7 separate regions of the Homo sapiens genome follow, and regions 1, 2, 3, 4, 5 and 6 are each linked to region 7. Evidence: promoter capture Hi-C in 16 types of primary human blood cells and fetal thymus (Javierre and others, 2016). All regions are on one chromosome and are shown on one strand. Each heading gives the region's core, a stretch centred on a gene start or on the middle of the fragment in contact. The rest is flanking DNA. Distances are from core to core; before and after follow the strand shown. Region 1 has its middle 8.4 kb from the start of PYROXD1. Region 2 overlaps ETNK1 (ethanolamine kinase 1). Region 3 overlaps ETNK1-DT (ETNK1 divergent transcript). Region 4 overlaps ETNK1 (ethanolamine kinase 1). Region 5 overlaps ETNK1 (ethanolamine kinase 1). Region 6 overlaps ETNK1 (ethanolamine kinase 1). Region 7 holds the start of CMAS (cytidine monophosphate N-acetylneuraminic acid synthetase).

Region 1 (2,713 bases), core at 194-2,693, 620 kb before region 7:
ATTCATTGGCTAGAACTGTGTACCATGGCTACCTTAGCTAAAAGAGTCTAGAAAAACAAGTGTTTTTGGATGGCACATTGTCAATTCAAACAAAATTGGGGTTCCTTTAGTAAGAAAGCAGGGAATAATGAATATTTGATAGGCAAGTAGGAGTAAATGTACTGATAAAGGACATATAGAAAGAGAAGAAAATTTGGTAAAGAAGATGGCTTTGAGAAACAACTACATTTAGGGGCAGGTAAAAAAAAAAAGAATAATCACAGGAAAGAGAAAAAAAGTAACCAAAGAAGTAAAACAAAAATAGGAATATTGTCAAAAAGTAATTCATGTTTTTGCAATATAATTAGATCTGTAAAATGTTTTGACTTATTTCTCAATTACCTTTGAATATAAGGAAGGTAATTACATTATGAATCCATAAGTCATGACCATCTGACAATTGACATTAACATTCCTCTTCAACAGGTTACATTAATAAATACAGAAAAGCATAGTGTCCGTTCCTGAGGCAGACGGCTGGGGCAAAAGAAAGTTCTTTACAGACATCTGATGCTGTAACTATTAGTCAACTGACAAAAATTTAGATAATTTCAAATCACAACACAGCCAGCTGATGTGTCCATTTAAATAAATATTTCTTCTTATTGAGAAAAAAAAAGCTTTTTCCTTTGTGAATGCAATTTCACGGCCAAAAGAATAACTATTTTTGTTGTTATATCAAATATGTTTTCTTAACTGCTCTTTTGCTAAATGTAATCTACGCACTAAATGGCCTGACTTGAATCAAGCCAGAAATTTTTTAGACTTGTATCTCCAAAGTTTGAAGATGAAATGAGAATGTTTCTTTTCCTTTGTAGCTTGCTGCTTTTGGTCAAGCATTCTCAATGTCCACCATTGTTAGCATAAATAAACTGAGTAAAGATATTTTGACAGCTAAAACTTTAAAATCTCATGTAAACTTGAATATATTTTCAAAATTAAAAGGGAAAATTTACTTAAATGTTCATATACATATGTTTGGGGTTAGTTTAAACTTAAAAAAATTAATGTGTACTGCAATAATATTTGAAACAACAAATGTGTTTCATTTTTCTTTCTAAAAGAAGTAAAATTAAGAGATAAAAAATCTTTAATTTCGGTACTGTCCGTCAACTGAAATAAATTAGCCACATTCGATACCATAATTTAACATTTTACTCATTACGAATAAATTATGCTGTACTTTCTTTGCATCTTAATTTATTTTTTAGAAATCACAAGTTATTTTAATCAACAAAAATAGGAGTAGAAAGTGTTGCTTCTTCCTTTTTCTTTAGTATAATAACTAGCCTGAAAACAGTTTTTTTTTTTTTTAATTTTTTTTGAGACAGGGTCTCACTCTGTCACCTAAGCTGGAGTGAAATGGTACAATCATAGCTCACTGCAGCCTTGCCCTCCTGGGCTAAGGTGATCCTCCCATCTCAGCTTCTGGAGTAGCTGAGACCACAGGCATGCACCACCATGCCTGGCTAATTTTGTGTTTTTTATAGAGACGAACTTTTGCCATATTGCCGAGTTTGGTCTCAAACTCCTGGACTCAAGCGATCCACCAGTCTCAGCCTCCCTCCCAAAGTGTTGAAATTACAGGTGTGAACCACCATATCTGGCCTGATTTTATTTAATTATGAAAAAAAAATCTGAATTTCCCTGATCTTCAATGTAACTGATGTTAAAATGTTACCTGATGTATTAAATAGAAAATAATTAAGCCTCAGATCATTAAATAATAATTCTTTCAACTGCTGTCACAATTATTTTATATATGGAAATCATAGCAATTAATGAATGAATGCCATGAAACATAAGTACTAATGTTTTATTCAAAAACAGCATGAAAGTTATAAATCTATTTCTTTATAAAGGATACAGAAAAGTACATGCAAATTATACTATTTCGTACTATGAAGGACATCTTTTAGAAGTTTTCATCATGATTCAAAAGTTATAGAAACGAGGTGCGGATAATAAAAAAGGTTTTATATTTGGCTTTGGAATTTGTGTACTTACAACTTAATAAGAGTATTTCCTGTTGATATGGTTTGAAACTTAAATTGAAATATGAAGCTCCATGGTACCGCTTGTGAAGAGCTTAGAAATTTTATAAACCGAGTAAACAGCATTGGAAACCCAGCAGGAAAGCCTCTTATTGTAATAAAGAGCCTGATTCCATTGTTGATGTTTGACTGCTGGAAGCTTTCAGGCCTCACGACTCCCCTGTCCCTTGCTGCCCCACATCTGGGCAGTCTGAGAAGGTTTCAGTATGCCCCTCCCTTGGTGCCCACGTGATTTTCAAGCCATACAAGGACTGGCCTGTATGTGCCAGAACTCTCACCCCAGCTCGATCACCTAATCTCATTAAAAACAGGGCCTGTCACCCTTCTCTGCTCTCCAAGCTATTTTTGGATCAGCTTATAATCCTGTCCTATTCTCCCCAGAAAGCCTCATTATGTAAGTAATAAGCCTTTTCATTCCCTCATGGGGTGAGTGTGTGTGTGTGTGTGTGTGTGTGTGTGTATGTGTGTGTGATCATTAATCTTCACATCCAAATCAAATTTTGGATGGGGGTTCCTTCCTGATACTGTGAGTTCCTTCCTGATACTGTGGGGTGACTGTAACATTTATCTACCTAGAACAACAGAACAACCTGGTCTCAAAATATCATATCAAACTATTG
Region 2 (2,711 bases), core at 207-2,706, 640 kb after region 7:
GGAAATAGGGTTTGTCGGCTTTGGTTAATGTCAGTACTCATTTATTTAGCCTCTCAGTGCTTAATAAGACTTTTCTTTATTTTTTAGTTAGCCGTTAGGTTTTGTGAGGTTAGATTCCTGGAAGCAGTGAATTTATACACTGTTATATTAATAGAGCTCCGTTCTTTGAGTCATGATTCCAAGCTAAAGGAAATTAAAAATGTAATTTAATAATTTCCTATTTTTAGGGTTGTTAATTTTTTTCTACAAAAAAACCTTGAAATTTTAGATATCCCAATGTGAATCTAATTTCCATATATACAGAAATTAGACAAATAATAAGTCTTTAGTTCAACTTAAGCATATCTCAAATGACTTCTCTAAATTTAAAGTTGATCATGATAGGATCATAAAAGACAGAAAAGACTTAAGTAATCTTGTAATGACAATTATTTCCATTTTTGCTGAACTAAAAATATTTAACTTCATAAATATGTTACTACAGCTTCCAGATTTAAAGAAAAAAAGTTTCCCCCACTCTCAATTAAAAGTTAGAACCCTCCACTTTTAAAATTATACAAATATTTCTTTTTTACATTACACAGAAGCCTTCTGTACCATTTTACGAATTTCTGTCTTCATAATATAAGTGAAAATACTGTCATTTCAATTTTCTGCTTTAAATTGTTTTTAATAAGCATTCCAAAGTGATACAGACTTAAGCTTTTAATCAATCAGTCATTCAGTTGATAGACAAAGTTAGCGATGCTTTATGCTAGGAAACTTGTTGACAGTAACCTGTGCGACTTTATGCAGAAGACAAATGCTAGTAATTATTATGCACAGAGGAAAAATCATTTTAAGTATGTGGTAAAGCAGCTTCATCTTTCAAAATTGATTTGCTCTGGTTTTTCTTTAGTCCATTAGATTCCAGAATGTCCTTTTACTGGGAATTTAGTTATGTATTAAGATAACCTGTTTTCAGTTCTTTTTGAAAAGAAGACATTATTTATATTGAACCACCTTATTTTAAAATTTTTAACTTTTATATACCACTTGTGTGATTCCAGTGTCATGTCTTGGGTTTGATGTCGTTGGACAGAAAAGTGTATCAATTATTTTAAATGAATTTTTCCCCATGTTTGAGGCTTAGTCTGTAAATGTGTTGCTGTAACAGAAAATACTTGGGTATGCATTACTTGAATACTTGAAAACTGAAATTAATAAGATGTATTACATAATGAATTAGATTTCTCTGAACAGTTTTTACACTGAAAATCTTCATTTCTGGATTGCAGTTTGAAATGGAATGAAGACCTGAATTATTTGGGTAGAAAAAATTATGATAGTGCTTATAAGAACTGTAAACTGTTTTAAACTATTTTGTGTTTGACGCATCAAACTTCAAGTTTTTTGTAAGTTTCTCTCCTGAAATTTTCTTTCTCTTCTATACTTTATGCACTTACTATACTACTGATGTAATAAAAGAGCAGGGTTAAAAATATTGTATCTGTATTCATTGTGAATCCTGTAGCTTTTCTAGTTAACAAAAAATCGCTTTCTAAAATACTCTTAATCCCATTGTTTTGGTTAACATCTTACCCATTTGTTGTATTTCAAATGCCATTAATCATTTTAGTACAACACCTATGTTTATAAAAATTTGAAAACATTACATATTGTATTTAAAACTAATTAGTGAAGAGTAAGAAAAAAACTAGCCAACAGAATTGTAGGTGATGCATTAGTTAAATTTCAAAACTCATAATAAAGGAACTTTCAGAGATTGGTTGAAACCCAGTGGTATCCCTGTAAATTAGCTCCTGTGACTGGAAAAGACCCCAAAAAGGCAGTAGAGGAGATTAGTGTTTACTTGCTGTGGTTGTGGTGTGCTGCTACTTAATTATAGGTAGTGACACACTGAAATTCTTATTTGTCCAATAATCTGAAGTAGTTTCCTATATTTATCTGTACTAAATTGACTATAAATTGAGTCTGCAAAGAGGAAACTTTTTGACTGTACTGTATTTAGGAGCCTTTGTACAGCTTGGTCAAATTTCCATGATATGAAGTATTTGAGTTTTAAAATATACTGTTATTAAAAGGAAAAAGACATGGCCATTATTCCATGTGCTTAAATGATAATTTCCTTATTCAGTTTCAGAAGAAAAAGAATGAAATTGGGTAACTGTCATTGCGTTAGCTTTATGTTGAATTGGGAAATTGTGGCATAAAGCTTAAATTCGTGTTTATCAAATGTGAACCATAGTAGTATAATGCTGCTTTGTATATAATGTAAGTGCTACAAATAGTCTCAGCACTGAAAATGTATTGATACCTCTTAAATGAATGCAACTTTTGATGTAGGTGTTTTGCTATGCCTCAGAAAATATCTGTCTGAGAATTTGTTAATCTGTTTGATAATGAAGATACTTCCTGTTTTCTTGTTTCATATTTTCATGTTCAAAATTTAAGTTTTACATTTTTACTACTGTTAATTTAAATAAAATTTGTTCTGTGGATAAAATGAGGTTGGCAGTGAAGAAAATTAAAAACAGCCTCATTCATGTAACTGGTTAAGTAAAAATACATTTTCACTATGTGTTCATAAACTTTTAATGAAGCTGTTTGTCTTTCAGTTCAAATATAAGTGATGTTTAGGCTTTATTTCTGTTAATAAGGCTTTTTACCATTGATTAAATGAAGGAATGTATCTTTTTGAAGAGATTTAT
Region 3 (2,759 bases), core at 208-2,707, 560 kb after region 7:
AATACTGATTTATGTTGTTTATGTCTAACAATGACTTCTACCTTCCCAAATCCCTTTCTGGGCATAAATATAGATATATATGTGCATACATATGTATTTTTTAATTTTAGTTTTTTAACTTGAAAACACATATGTACGGTTTGATCACCTTATTTTGTTTTTCATTTCAATGGATACTTTTTGTGACTACATTTTAATTTATTGACTGCCTAAGTTTATGGGGCCTGGGTAACACAAATTTCTTGTTTCCCACTTAGTATTTAGGTTATTTTTAAAATTTCAGTGTTCATGTAGCTCAGACCTATAGAATTAGCTGAAAATACTTAAGAAAAACAGGAAAACCATCTGAAAAATTCCAAAACAGACAAAAATTATTAAAGATGCATAATGATTGAGAAATTGGTAAATGGAGCATCATGTGTAAAAGTTAATTACTGAGAATGGGTTTTGACCACTTTGTCATTTAGACTAATCACCATTTGGATTAAATTATTTTTAACGAAACCATGTGGAGCTAATGTTATTTGTAATTATTGCTGAGTAGAAAAAAGACACTATTTGTTTCTTTTTACATTTTAATATTTTATAATTTAAAAAATGAGCATATACCAAAGAAGAAAAAGTTCTTGCACATCTTTATTCCTGAGTAACTTACTCTTTATGCTGCATATGCCTATGCAATCTTTTTTTTTTTTTTGAAAAAATATTTTCCCCCAAACTGGTTATTGGTGGCACAACAGAATCCCATTTATATTTGCATATTCTATTATAGCTGAGGTAGCCTTGGCTAAGCTGAGAGATTGATTTTCTGGAGACTGCTCTTCCCATTTCCCCTCCCTGCAGGTTTTTGTTTTTGTTTTTGAGACACAGTGCAGTGGTGCTATCCCAGCAAACTGCAACCTCTACCTCCCAGGCTCAAACAATCCTCCCACCTCAGTCTCCCAAGTAGCTGGGACTACAGGTGCAAGCCACCATATCTGGCTAATTTTTGTATTTTTTGTGGAGACGGGGTTTTGCCACATTGCCCAGGCTGGTCTCGAACTCCTGAGCTCAGGTCATCCGCTCACCTCCTCGGCCTCCCAAAATGCTACGATCATAGGCATGAGCCACTGCACCCAGCCCTGATATTTTTTTAAATGTTAAACACAGTGCTTATTTTCTCTTGCCCTATTCTGATAATAAAAAAATTTCTGATTTAGCAGTAGCCCGTTTTTGTATATACTTTTCTTATCAATAAATTTGAAAATAGTATTAATATATGCATAGTTTGGATATTTGTCCCCAGCTAAATCTCATGTTGAAATATAATCTCCAGTGCTGGAGGTGAGGCCTGGTGGCAGGTGTTTGGACCATGGGAATGGATCCCTCATGAAAAGCTTAGGCCATCCCATTGGTGATAGGTCAGTTCTTGCTTTAAATTCACTCGAGATCTGGTCATTTAAAAGTGTGTGGCACCTCCTCACTCTACTCTCTTTCTCACTTTCACCTGCTTTCACCATGTGATGTGCCTGGTCCCCCTCCACCTTCCACCATGATTGTAAGCTTGGTGAGGCCTCCCTAGAAGCTGAGCAGATGCCAGCACCATGCTTCCTGTAAAGCCTACATAACTGTGAGCCAATGAAATCTCATTTATTTATAAATTACCCAAGCTCAAGTATTTCTTTATAGTAATGCAAGAATGGCCTAATACAATATATTTTAAATTTCCTTTTGACTCAGTTTTTACTTAGAAGAATTCATTTGCTTCATAATATTTGGTCCTTCTTTTCACCCTCAGGTTGATAATTTTGGTTTTTTATGATTTGTCATGTGTACTGCTTTTATCATTTATTATTTTGTGATAAACTCATGAGATAACTAACATTAAAGGAGGCAATTTGTATCTATCTAAATACATAAGTTTTGTATTCCTTTTATAGTTAATTAGGACATCTTATATTATTTAGGTTTTTCTACCACTCTGCCTCTTCCCCTTCCCCACCTTCCTTTTTATTTTTTCCATCTGAAGGTCTGTGTTTGGACACCTCTTACATATTTGTTTCAGACATACGGTTTTGGGTCAAGAAGGTGTACCTCAGTTTGGCAATTAACTGTTTCTAAACACTGACTCAGAGGTGTATGAGTGGGTAGAAACTCCTACTGTTTTTTTTGTAAAATGTCTCATCCTTGTCTCCTATAAGTATATTAAAAATCCCTTGGACTGATCCTTAAATAGACCCATTTAGTAAATTTCAGCAGCAATAGCACTGTGAACCAGTTGGATAGATTTCCAGTCAATTTTCTAATTTATAATACTGGATTCTAAACCATATGGTTTTAATGTGTTGACAAAAAGAAAGAATCACATCTTACCACAGTTCAAATATATTAAATCCAATGTTTCCTCATTATCACTAATGGTCTAACACTATCATAAAAGTTTACTAATTGGTACAGTAGGCTTTATTCTTTTAAAGCCATCAGGATTTTGCCTCACTGTACTTTAAACTCTTGTGGATGGTTATTACTGGATTTCTTGACAATCTGTCGTCTAGTGGTTACTGGCATCCTGGTTTATCTTGCCAGTTTACAATTAATAGGGCTACATTCTGCCTGTTTTTATAAACAAACAAACAAACAAACAAACAAAAAACACACACAAAAAAACCACGCTAGTATTTCACTTAACTCTTTAGCAATCGTCAGAGTCTTCACAACCAGAAGTCCTCCAAATCCATCAATCTCCCTGTGTCTGCAATGGTTTTAGGTGACTTGCAGAC
Region 4 (2,700 bases), core at 92-2,591, 600 kb after region 7:
TCCAGTTGTTCAGCACAATTTATTGAAAAGTCTATCTTTTCTCCATTATATTTCCTATGCTCCTTTTCAAAAATCAGTTGACTGTATTTATATGGGTCTGTTTCTGGGTTCTCTATTCTGTTTCTTCATCTGTTTGTCTAATCTTTTGCAGATATCACACTACCTTAATTGCTATAGCTTTATGGTAAGTCTTGAAATCAGGTAGTGTTAGTCCTCCAACTTGTTCTTGTCTTTCAATATTGTGTTGGCTATTCTGGGCCTTTTGCTTCTCCTTATAAACTTTAGTTTTTACATTTTAAAATGGACTTTTTAAGAATTTATTTTTAATTGACAAATAATAATTGTGTATATTTGGGATACAGTATACATGTAAACTTTAGAATCAGTTTTTCAATATCACAAAATAACTTGCTGGGATTTTGATAGGAATTGCACTGAATCTGTATATCAAATTGGGAAGAACTGACATCTTGGCAGTATTGAGTCTTTTTATCCGTGAACATGGAATATCTCTTATTTAGTTATTTGGTTTCTTTTATCAGAGTTTTATAGTCTTCCTCATATAAATCTTGTACATAGTTTGTTAGATTTATACCTAAGTATTGTATTTTTGGGGGTGTTACTGTAAAAGGAGTGCATTTTATTTTCAATTTTCACATATTCATTACTGGTATGTAGGAAAGCAATTGACTTTCATATTTTTTTAATCCTGCAAGCTTGCTATAATTGCTCATTCCGCGAGGTTTTTTTGGTCCATTCTTTTGGATTTTCTCCATAGAAAATCATGTTATCTATGAACAAAGACAGTTTTTTTTTTTTCTTACCTCTTATTTTTTTTCTTGTCTTAATGTGTTAGCTAGGACTTTCAGTACAGTGTTAAAAAGGATTGGTGAAAAGTGATGTTCTTTCTTTATTCCTGATCTTAGTGGGAAATCTTCAAATTACGTGTCATTAAGTAGGATGTTAGCTGTAGTTTTTTTTGTAGATATTCTTTATCAGATTGAAGATACTCTCTCTTTATTCCTAGTTTGCTGAGTTTTTATGATAATGAGTGCTAGATTTTGCAAAATGCTTTTTCTGCACATGTCGATAGGTTCATGTGATTTTTCTTTTTTAGTCTGTTAATGTATTGGATTACATTAATGAATTTTCAAATATTGAACCAGCCTTGTATACCTGAGATAATCCCACTTGGTCACAGTGTATAATTTCTTTTTATATATTGTTGGATTTGATTTGCTTGTGTTTTGTGTCAGCAAATATATTATATAAAAAATAAACATTTAAAAATAATCTTTTAAATAAATAGGAAATATAAAAATGTAGCATTTTCTGTTGTATATAATATTTGCTAGCAGAAAACAATTGAGGTATACTTGATTAAAGTGTTTTTAAGAATTCTTTTTCAATGAGCATTTTATTTAGTTAATAAAAATTTGATTTGTTTATAGTTGTTCTGAAAAAATTTGATTATGGTAAATGCTACATAAAATTTACCATTGAAGCAGCATTTTTATCTGGGGTAATACCTGAGGTTGGTTGTTCCACAACTACAGAAAACTAGGATACAGACAACCAGAGTGAGGTTAAGAGTGGAAGTTTAATAGGCAAAAGAAAGAGAAGAGCTCTCTGTGCAGAGAGGGGTCCCAGAGAAAATGGGTTGCCAGTTCTGTGGTGTAATGTACAGGGTTTTATAGATTAACTTGAGGAGGCAGTGTTTGATTTGCAGAGGGCACGGAAGATTGGTCGGACCAGGCGTGCCTTTTGCATAAAGCATGTAGAAGCTGGTGGCCCCACTTTAATCTTTTATTATGCAGATGGTTCTCTACTTGGCCAGTGCCATGTTGCCTGCCTCTTTTACTAGACACATGGTGACAAAGAAAAGGGAAGATGAAGGCTCCGTTGTGAACATACCTGACTTCCAGGTAGCCCTTTTCTACTGGCACAGCTGCTGGCATTCACTCATGCAAGCTTCTAGCTTGCTTATCTATGTCTGCAGCTTGAATTTTCAGGCTGCTCTTTGTTAGAAGTGATTTGGGGGCTGCTTTCTATTAAAAGGGAGTCCTTACCGAGAACTCCTTTACCCTCACTATCTGCCTAAATCATTTCTTTCTGGCTCCAGTTGTCACCATCTTAACCATTTTTTAAAAAATACAGCTCAATAGTGTTATTGCATTCACATGGTTGTGCAACTAATTTCCTAACATATTTTTTTTTTATAATGTAAAACTACAATTCTATCCCTTTTTTTTTTTTTTTTTTTTGAGACAGAGTCTCGCCATGTCGCCCAGCCTGGTGTGCAGTGGTGCCTCCCAGGTTCAAGTGCAATCTCTGCCTCCCAGGTTCAAGTGATTCTCCTGCATCAGCCTCTCGAGTAGCTGGGACTATAGGTGCCCACCACCTCGCCCTGCCGAGTTTTGTATTTTTTAGTAGAGACGGGTTTCACCATGTTGGCCAGGCTGGTCTCGAACTCCAGACCTCAGGTGATCTGCCCACCTCGGCCTCCCAAAATGCTGGGATTACAGGCGTGAGCCACCACGCCTGGCCAATTCTATGCTTTTTAAACAACAAATCTTCTTTCCTTCCTCCAGCCCCTGGCAACCGTCATCTACTTTCTATCCCTAGGAATTTGACTACTTAGGTACATCATGTTAGTGGAATCATGTAATGTTTGTCTTTTTGTGACTGGCTTATTTCACT
Region 5 (2,804 bases), core at 38-2,537, 580 kb after region 7:
TCCTGTGAGGTAGATGTAGACGGTACTGTTAATATGTATCATATAGTTAATGAAACTGAATTTGCCGTTTACAAATGGCAGATCTGAGATGATAAACCATCTTATGAATTATTGTTCTATGACCAAGAGTTTTGTTTGTATATTATGATTTAGGCAGGGAAGGTGCTTCTGTATAAAATTAATTTCTTAAAAGCTTTGGCTCATAAAAAGATTCTGCTTTAAAGTTCCCTTGAACATAAATTTGCATTACTTTTTTCATATGTGACACCATTTTAGGAAAAAGGGATTACTTAAGCTTTCCTTCACGAGTTACTTTTGTTGTGTAACAACTGTTTAACTTATTTGAAGATTTTGATTTTTAATTTTTATACTTTTCTTTGGAGAGTCATCGTATAAAGGAATAAAGAATCAAGTCAGATCTCAGGTCCATAATAATTCTCAACGGACTCTTAAAATTGTTTTTCATTTTCTGAAGAGCTGATGAATTAGTGTTTGGAATATTCCAGTTATGTTGTCTCAGGGTCTTTCTGTTTGCAGTATTAAGCAACGTTGTTTTTCTCACTAACTTGTCACTATGAATTTTTCCATTACTTGGGACTTATAGTAGATAATGGCAAAGGCTTCATAGGTAGGAATTAATACCGTAATTATTATTTAACATTACAAAACTAATATATTTATTCCTTTGTTGGGTCTAAATGAGATTGCTTGCTATATGGTACCTTATAGCAACTTAGCTTTTCAATAACAGTGTGTTACAGTGCTCAAGAGCATGGGGTTTGAACACAGTGCTAGTTTTGAGTCCAGATTCTATACTTTACTAGCTTTGTTACTCTGGTCAAATCATTAAACTTCCTGTCTCAGTATCCTGAGCTGTAAAATTGATCCAGTAGTTGTCCCTACCTCAATGGGTTATTGTGAGGGTAAAATAAATGCTGTCTTTCATGATAATTATTATTGCTGCTGAGCACCTACTATATATTGGATACTTGAATCAAAAAACAAATATTTGCTCTTTGAAATTCCTAGTCCGATGGGGAAGACAAATAAGAAAATTATAACAACGTAATGTTTATGGAATGAACATTCAAATTTAGTTCACATGCAAAGATTACCCAAGAAGTTTAAAAAATGTACTGTTCTTTCTGCTTTACTACAGGTTTTTGCCTGTTATTGAATGCATATTTTAAAAAATCTTTTCATCATTTTTTTAAGCATATGTATTCTATCATGGAAATTAATCTTTGTGTTAGGTTGTGTAGCTACACAGCAGTTTTCATATCCTTCCTCTTTCTAACAGTGTTGGAGGTAGTTACCTAAATAATCTATTAAAAACCTGTAACTCCTCTTAATATTGATAGTTGATATTTTATATTGGTCTTTGCCTTAAAGGAAGAAGAAAAAGCCAGATCTATACAATTGCTGTGTTAAGTTATGTCTCCACTAGTGTTCTGATATAATAATTGATTTTCTTTTCTGTTTTTAAAAAGATGAGTTTGTTCCTTTAAGCAGTAGCTTCTGAAAAGTCTTAGGTAAGCTAATGTAGTAAGTTACGGCTAATTTTTTAATATATTAAAAAAGTAAACAATATATTAGTTTACTTTCCCTAAGATTATAGGAAATCTTGAGTCCTGTAGATACAAATAAGGAGTCATGGTTTATATTCAGTGTAACTTTTAATGTTAGTGATTACATCCAGTTTTCTGTTTCCTATTCCCTCCCTGTCTTCAGCATTTTAGAATAATAAAGTATATAATGTTTAATAGACGCCCATCAAAAACATGAAATATTTGTTAGGCTCCCATGTATTTTATTAAGATGTGACTATGAAGACAGGAGCCTAAAGTGCTAGTTTGTTTTCCTGTATAATAGCCATGTAACTTGGACTACACAAACTGCGTCACATCTTTTTGGGGACTGAGCATAATGTGGAAAGAGGATGGTTTTTGAATATTATTTCCAGCCATTTATAACCTTTGGCAAGTTTTAAAGTCTCTATAAAATGGTATTACCTTGGAAAGTAGTCATGAGAATTCAATGAAATACCTACAATTACGCATCGCATGTTTTGGTACTACGTTCTTCCACCTCTCATTTCCAATTCTCCCATCCCAACTGAGAGAATTGTGAGCTCCTAAAATTCAGTAATTCTGACATGTGTTTTTTGTACTAGCTGTAATGCTAGTTTTCAGTAAGAGTCCTTGTACAACTAACTGTAGCACAAGGTAGGCATAGAAGAACGTAGGACAGAAGGCTTCATAGAGGTGGGGGTACCTGAGCTAAGCTTTGAAGGGTAGATGAGATCAGATTGAAAAGGGAAACATTTCTGAGCAAGGAAAACTATCTCACAAAGGCAATGAAGCTAGACTTTGAGTAGCTTACTCATCATTTAGGACATCATGGGAAGCCACTGGATATTTTTCTTTTTGTATTTTATTTTATTTTATTTTATTTTTTTTGAGACAGAGTCTCGCTGTAGCCCAGGCTGGAGTGCAGTGGTGTGATCTCAGCTCACTGCAACCTCCGTTTCCCAGGTTCAAGTGATTCTCGTGCCTCAGCCACCCAAGTAGCTTGGATTACAGATGTGCGCCACCATGCTCAGCTAATTTTTGTATTTTTAGTAGAGTCGGGGTTTCACCATGTTGGCCAGGCTGGTCTCGAATGCCTGACCTCAAGTGATCCACCCACCTCGGCCTCCCAAAATACTGGGATTACAGGCATGAGCCACCGCACCTGGCCTGGATATTTTTAAGCAGGTAAATTATATCATGTATTAGAGAAGTGACAGGCAACAATGTAGAGAA
Region 6 (2,700 bases), core at 81-2,580, 620 kb after region 7:
ATTTAATAGACTTTATATTAAGCAGAATAAATTGTAATATTGCCTATGACTAACTTCAAATCTAATATTTTAATTTCAACTAATCATTTAACTACTGACATCAAGAAATTACTAAAGCTGTTGAGATTTCTATCTCATGTCTTGATGTTCTCTCAGAATGTTTATTGGTCTCATGACTTTTGGTGACTTTCATTTCTCCTGCTGTCCCCATTTCTTCATAAAAGCTCATGTAAATACCTAATATTTAACTTTAAATTTCAGTAATGGCAATCACTGTTTATTTTCTCTGTCAGCACAATACAAGAAGCTGATTTACAGCTGTTTAAGGAAATACAAATGAGTGGAAGAAAAGGAAAGCTTTTTCTGGGAATTAAAGAGTAAATCAGGTTTTGTTTTATTTTGCTTTGTTTTAAGAGTTCTATACAATATAAATAGAAAATGGGTGAGTCCCCATAGTCACTTGTTTGGCTCTAAATCTTATCCATTCTATTATTACTCCTGAGAAAGCTTTGTAGTTGTCATGTTACTCATGTTTTAATGACTGAGAAGAGTTTTTTCATTGGTACTTTTAAAAAATTTAAATAAATACAAATTGATTTTTGTGTTTGGTAAACTATGTTTTCTAGGGTGGTGTTTTTAAATGTAGTTTAATTTTTAACTCTGTTTTAATTTGTATTCTCAACCACTAGTTAGCAGAAAATAAAATATCTGTAAGTCAGATAATAAAAAACTTAAATGAACTGTAAAAACCTGAAGTTATGAAGAAAGAGTGACCTAATATAGGTACTAGTTTGTTTGTTTTTTCATTCATTCATTCTGGCCCACTGTGTTCAGTCTTGTACTTGAATAAAAATGTCAGAAACACCACACTTTTTTCTTTAGTTTTTCATGCTTTTTTGTCTTTTCCCCTCCCCCAGCAAACGTGTTATTGTGTGTCAGCATTTTCTGCAAACTTCATTTTTTCTACTAGCATTTAAATATTTCCTGTGTCCTAGGGATTGCTCTGTGGATTGCAGGATAAAAGAGGGAAGGGACCCTAGTGCCCCTCCAGGAGGCTGTGTATCTTGTAGTGGAGGAGTCCAATCACTGAACAGATACTTACATTTAGAATGATGAGTGCTCTGGTGAAGGGGTACAGAGTACTACAGGACACCAGCGTGAAGATTAAAGGGAAAGTGTTTCAGACTAGAATACTCCCTGTCTTTTTCTGTATAAAATAGAAAACATTTTGCTAACATTAGTAGGATTATAGTTACTTTTCGTATCGTTCTCTTCGAACCTGCCTAACATTGCAGAGCAAGTAGGGTGAGTTGGAAAGATTTTTCAGGTTCTCATATTGACTATTTTGCTTTTCATTTTTATTCCTTTCTCCTAACAACAAAATAAAGGAATTCAGACAAACATGTCATGTGATAATTATATAGCCTTGGGTAATACATTATTATTTTTTAGTTTTAAAGTACTTTAAAAATTGGCAGAGTATTTTTAGTATACTAAGATTTGAACAGTTTAACCAGTAGTGTCGGGATTTGATTACGCTGATAAAGATATGCAAGAAATAAAGTAATAAAAGACAAAATGTAGGTTTGGAAAATTCAAATTGTAGTTTTATCCATTAATCATATACTTTACTTTGTGCTTGTCATTGTGATAATTACATAAAGATAAATAAAATAACACACCTAGCCCTTAAAGTAGTAGTTCTTTACTTTTTAAAGGTCAGGGGTCCCTTGAGAATCTGAAAAATTGAGAATCTCTTCCTAAGAAAGTGCACATACACATAAAATTTTAGGGAATATTCTAGTTGTCTTTTCATCCTTGAAACCCCAATTAAAAATTCATGTCTTAAAGAACTGAGATGATGATCATGCTATATGAGCTAGTTAATTATTAATGCTGATGTGGATATTCGTTTAAATAAAGCGAAATTTTAGAAATCAGAAGTTAAATTTATAGAAGGAAAAAGTATATTTTCTGTTGTTAGGAAAGCATTTTCCAGTAATTTGATTTTTCTGGCACCCTAACTAAGGGAAGTTGGCTTTTTAAATTTTACTTTGTTGCAGAAGATTAAATTTAAGGTTGAGTTCCACTTTGTTTGCAATAGTTTGAAAAAGAATAGTTAATGCAGATTTTTTTTTTAAATTTTTTTCCTTTTAAGCTTTGTGTCTTGTACAATGTGAGTTTGCCAAATTTTCTTCATCTGCTACAGATTAGGTATGCCATTGTTGCTGCCATGTGGCGGCGCACCCCGTGCTTCTTAAACGCACTGACTGGAGGTTTATCGCATCACTTGTTCACATGCACGGAGCCTGGTAACAGCCTCATCTGTATCTTGTTAGCTTCATTTTCTTATTTTTAAAATTTCATTATTTATAAACTCAACATAGCATTTAAAAATAAAGGCTAGTTTTAATTAATTAATGTTACTACAAAAAGTCATTGCTAAAATTTTCATAGTGAAACAGATTTTAACTTTTGTTAAAATGTGCTATGCTTTAATTAAATTGTATTTACTCTACAAGCAGGGATGTTTTACCTGCCATTTTAACTGTATTTGCCAAATTCTAAATATAATTTTGAAAATTGAAATTGAAGCTTATGTTTATGTGGCAAAAGTAAGCTTCAGGACTGGGCTGTGTATTTTTATTGGCATGTAACAGTTAATATGAGCTCTACAAGAATTTGTTTTTAAGGAGCTAA
Region 7 (2,726 bases), core at 37-2,536:
TATGTCTTTGAGCCTCTTGGCTGGATCAGGGTTTAAATGCTCAGGCGTGGCGGCTCATGCCTATAATCCCAGCACTTTGAGAGGCTGAGGCGGGCAGATCACTTGAGGTCAGGAGTTCAAGACCAGCCTGGCCAACCTGGTGAAACCCCCAACTCAACTAAAAATACAAAAATTATCTGGGTGTGGTGGTGCCCCTCTGTAATCCCAGCTACTCAGGACGCTTGAGAATGGGTGGCAGAGGGTTGCAGCGAGCCGAGATTGTGCCACTGCACTCCAGCCTTCTGGGGGACACAGTGAGAATCTGTCTCAAAAAAAAAAAAGAGTTTAAATGATGCCTCCAGAATTCTTTCTCTTTAATCCCTACATGTCATTGTTCTGCTTCCTCAGGGAGAACATCAGTCTTCCAGCCCATTTCAGAACAGCAAAGCCCCCCTGCCGCCCTACCCTACCCTTGCCCTGAGGCTTCAGGTTAACAAGGTCCTTAGCACCCAGTCAGCACGAGAAAGATCCTTTCTTTCCAAGACTCTCTGGAAAGGACTCCAGTGGGCTCTGCTTGGTCATATGCCTGTCCCTAGACCACAGGTGTGTTAAGGAAAATGGGGTGCGTAGATGGACCAGCTTGGGTCACACACAGTGCAGAGAATGTGAGGGAAACCCTCACCGGATGAGAGAGGGATCAATTCCTAAAAGGAAAAGATTTTTAGCAGACAACAAAACAAAACCAAAAAACCAAGTGTCGGCCACACTAGAGGTGACCAGTAAAGCTGACTTCCAAATTTCTGCTGCTAGGGAATGCTGATGTCGATCAAAGTGCGGAGAGCATATGAAAAATGGAGTTTTTAAAACGTTGAGTTTAAGGCGCCTGTAGGATATTTGAATGAGCTGGTCAGTAATTTCTTGGAAAAAATGACCCAGGGGCATTAAAAAAAGGTGTATGTTTAAAATGTACATTTTAAAATATAAAATGGATTCGTGTCAGGGTGCATCAAGGTATGCAACGGGAAACCCACCACAATTCTAAAGTGGGGAAGTTCTTCAGCAATTATAAATACTTTTTTTCTTTTTTAATTTTAGAAATTTACAGACACTTGCAAGCACCCCAAAAGCCGCACTTCCTCCAAATATCTCTGGACTCCCACTGCTTGACTTAGTTTTGGGGTCACCTCATCAGAGCCTACTTGGCCTACTGGCCCCAGACGAGGCGGCCGCGGACTACAATTCCCAGCGAGCACCGCGAGGGGCGGGGGAGGGGGCGGGGCGAGGGACGGCCGCGCGCGCCAGCTGCCAGGCGGGGATCGGGCGGCGCCGAGCTGAGGTGGTGAGGGACTAGCTCCCGGATGTGGAGAAGCTGGGGAGAAGGCGTGGGAGGAAGATGGACTCGGTGGAGAAGGGGGCCGCCACCTCCGTCTCCAACCCGCGGGGGCGACCGTCCCGGGGCCGGCCGCCGAAGCTGCAGCGCAACTCTCGCGGCGGCCAGGGCCGAGGTGTGGAGAAGCCCCCGCACCTGGCAGCCCTAATTCTGGCCCGGGGAGGCAGCAAAGGCATCCCCCTGAAGAACATTAAGCACCTGGCGGGGGTCCCGCTCATTGGCTGGGTCCTGCGTGCGGCCCTGGATTCAGGGGCCTTCCAGAGGTGCGCATGTGCGAGAGTGGGCGGCGCGGCCTGGGCGGGGGTCGGGAGAGGGAGTCGGGCTGCTGGAGGGGCTGGGGCCTCCGGGGCCACCGCTCTTGGAAGGGGGCCATCTCTCATGCCAGGGATGTGCAAGATCCGGGGTGCCTGGGGCCGGGCTGAGAGCCCAGGAGGAAGGGCTCCAGCTCCTTCCTTGTTCCGTAGCTGCCAATGGTCATAACCTGGGACAGTTCCTGTCTCCGCCCTTGAGAATCATCCGTAAAAGGGGAGATTACACCTCCCCAACCGTCCCCTCCTCCCGGGTTGACCTTACGGGGAAAAGTAAAGGAGGCCACCCCGGTGCAACATCTGTGATAATATGTGAACTTCTTTGGATGGGGGCCATCGAAGCTCCCCTGTTGCTCAGCCTCTGATAACTGCTTGGTGCTGCTCGATTAGGGAGGCATCAGGTTCATGAATGGAGTTGAGTGTCGGGGTGTCAGAGCTGAATTTCAAGCTCAGCTTGGAGATCTTTTCCTAACCTTTGAAAAATACTCCAGCTATCTTCCTGTGAGTCAGCACAATCTAGAAAACTCCCTACATTTATAAATACGTGAGACTCAGTGGGAAGGTGTACAACTGACTGTTTTATGATATATTAATACTTACAAATCATTTAATCATACCTTTGGAACCTCGCCTGCCCTATGGACAGTTTTAATTATGCGTAATTTAGATACATTGCCAAATTGGTCAGGAGTTACAAGCTGATGTTATTCATAAAAGAAGGGAGATCGAATTCTGTGCCAAGAATGAATTTACACATATAGCTTCAACCTAACTACATTTGAATGTGTTGTTATTGTGGAAATTAATTTATGTTAACCTTTTGATGTTTCGATTTTTAAAGAGATGACTGTTTTTGAAGTCATCTCTTTTTCTTTTTGAACCTATATTTGCTTACCCATATTAATATATGGGTAAATGATTTTCATTTAACCAGTCTTGTTCAAAAACGGGAGATGCCAAAAAAGTATAAATATACTAATTTTCTTAATGTTTCAACCCAAAAGAAGTCCTGGATGGACCAAGGCAAATAGGAGCCACCACTCAGAAGA

The links. Contacts are between HindIII fragments. The CHiCAGO score rates a contact against its expected background, and 5 or more counts as called.
Region 1: a contact is called between a fragment that was not itself captured here and the fragment with the promoter of CMAS in region 7, in 1 of 17 cell types (total CD4 T cells). The highest score is 5.4, in total CD4 T cells.
Region 2: a contact is called between a fragment that was not itself captured here and the fragment with the promoter of CMAS in region 7, in 3 of 17 cell types (monocytes, erythroblasts and M2 macrophages). The highest score is 5.7, in monocytes.
Region 3: a fragment that was not itself captured here is called in contact with the fragment with the promoter of CMAS in region 7 in 2 of 17 cell types (activated CD4 T cells and total B cells); the score reaches 8.2 in activated CD4 T cells.
Region 4: a contact is called between a fragment that was not itself captured here and the fragment with the promoter of CMAS in region 7, in 1 of 17 cell types (erythroblasts). The highest score is 5.7, in erythroblasts.
Region 5: a contact is called between a fragment that was not itself captured here and the fragment with the promoter of CMAS in region 7, in 13 of 17 cell types (non-activated CD4 T cells, erythroblasts, total CD4 T cells and 10 more). The highest score is 14.2, in non-activated CD4 T cells.
Region 6: a contact is called between a fragment that was not itself captured here and the fragment with the promoter of CMAS in region 7, in 1 of 17 cell types (activated CD4 T cells). The highest score is 6.2, in activated CD4 T cells.

The regions. Positions count from the first base shown.
Region 1 is chr12:21,427,875-21,430,587 of GRCh38, forward strand. No RefSeq gene overlaps it. Among named protein-coding and RNA genes, the nearest start is that of PYROXD1, 8.4 kb to the right of the region's middle. The HindIII fragment of the contact is 1,573 bases long and covers 658-2,230 here.
Region 2 is chr12:22,687,905-22,690,615 of GRCh38, forward strand. It overlaps ETNK1 (ethanolamine kinase 1), which reads left to right. Exons shown (of 8, transcript NM_018638.5): 8 at 1-2,711. Among named protein-coding and RNA genes, the nearest start is that of LINC02955, 11 kb to the right of the region's middle. The HindIII fragment of the contact is 1,513 bases long and covers 701-2,213 here.
Region 3 is chr12:22,606,915-22,609,673 of GRCh38, forward strand. ETNK1-DT (ETNK1 divergent transcript) reads right to left here. Exons shown (of 4, transcript NR_135030.1): 2 at 2,669-2,759. Among named protein-coding and RNA genes, the nearest start is that of ETNK1-DT, 17 kb to the right of the region's middle. The HindIII fragment of the contact is 166 bases long and covers 1,375-1,540 here.
Region 4 is chr12:22,649,439-22,652,138 of GRCh38, forward strand. The region is part of intron 2 of ETNK1 (ethanolamine kinase 1); the gene reads left to right. Among named protein-coding and RNA genes, the nearest start is that of ETNK1, 26 kb to the left of the region's middle. The HindIII fragment of the contact is 1,255 bases long and covers 715-1,969 here.
Region 5 is chr12:22,628,172-22,630,975 of GRCh38, forward strand. The region is part of intron 1 of ETNK1 (ethanolamine kinase 1); the gene reads left to right. Among named protein-coding and RNA genes, the nearest start is that of ETNK1, 4.4 kb to the left of the region's middle. The HindIII fragment of the contact is 1,989 bases long and covers 294-2,282 here.
Region 6 is chr12:22,666,389-22,669,088 of GRCh38, forward strand. The region is part of intron 4 of ETNK1 (ethanolamine kinase 1); the gene reads left to right. Among named protein-coding and RNA genes, the nearest start is that of LINC02955, 32 kb to the right of the region's middle. The HindIII fragment of the contact is 1,651 bases long and covers 506-2,156 here.
Region 7 is chr12:22,044,932-22,047,657 of GRCh38, forward strand. It overlaps CMAS (cytidine monophosphate N-acetylneuraminic acid synthetase), which reads left to right and starts at 1,287. Exons shown (of 8, transcript NM_018686.6): 1 at 1,287-1,632. The coding sequence starts at 1,373. RefSeq lists enhancers at 1,104-1,398, 1,714-2,419 and silencers at 1,171-1,540, 1,184-1,411. The HindIII fragment of the contact is 10,395 bases long and covers 1-2,726 here.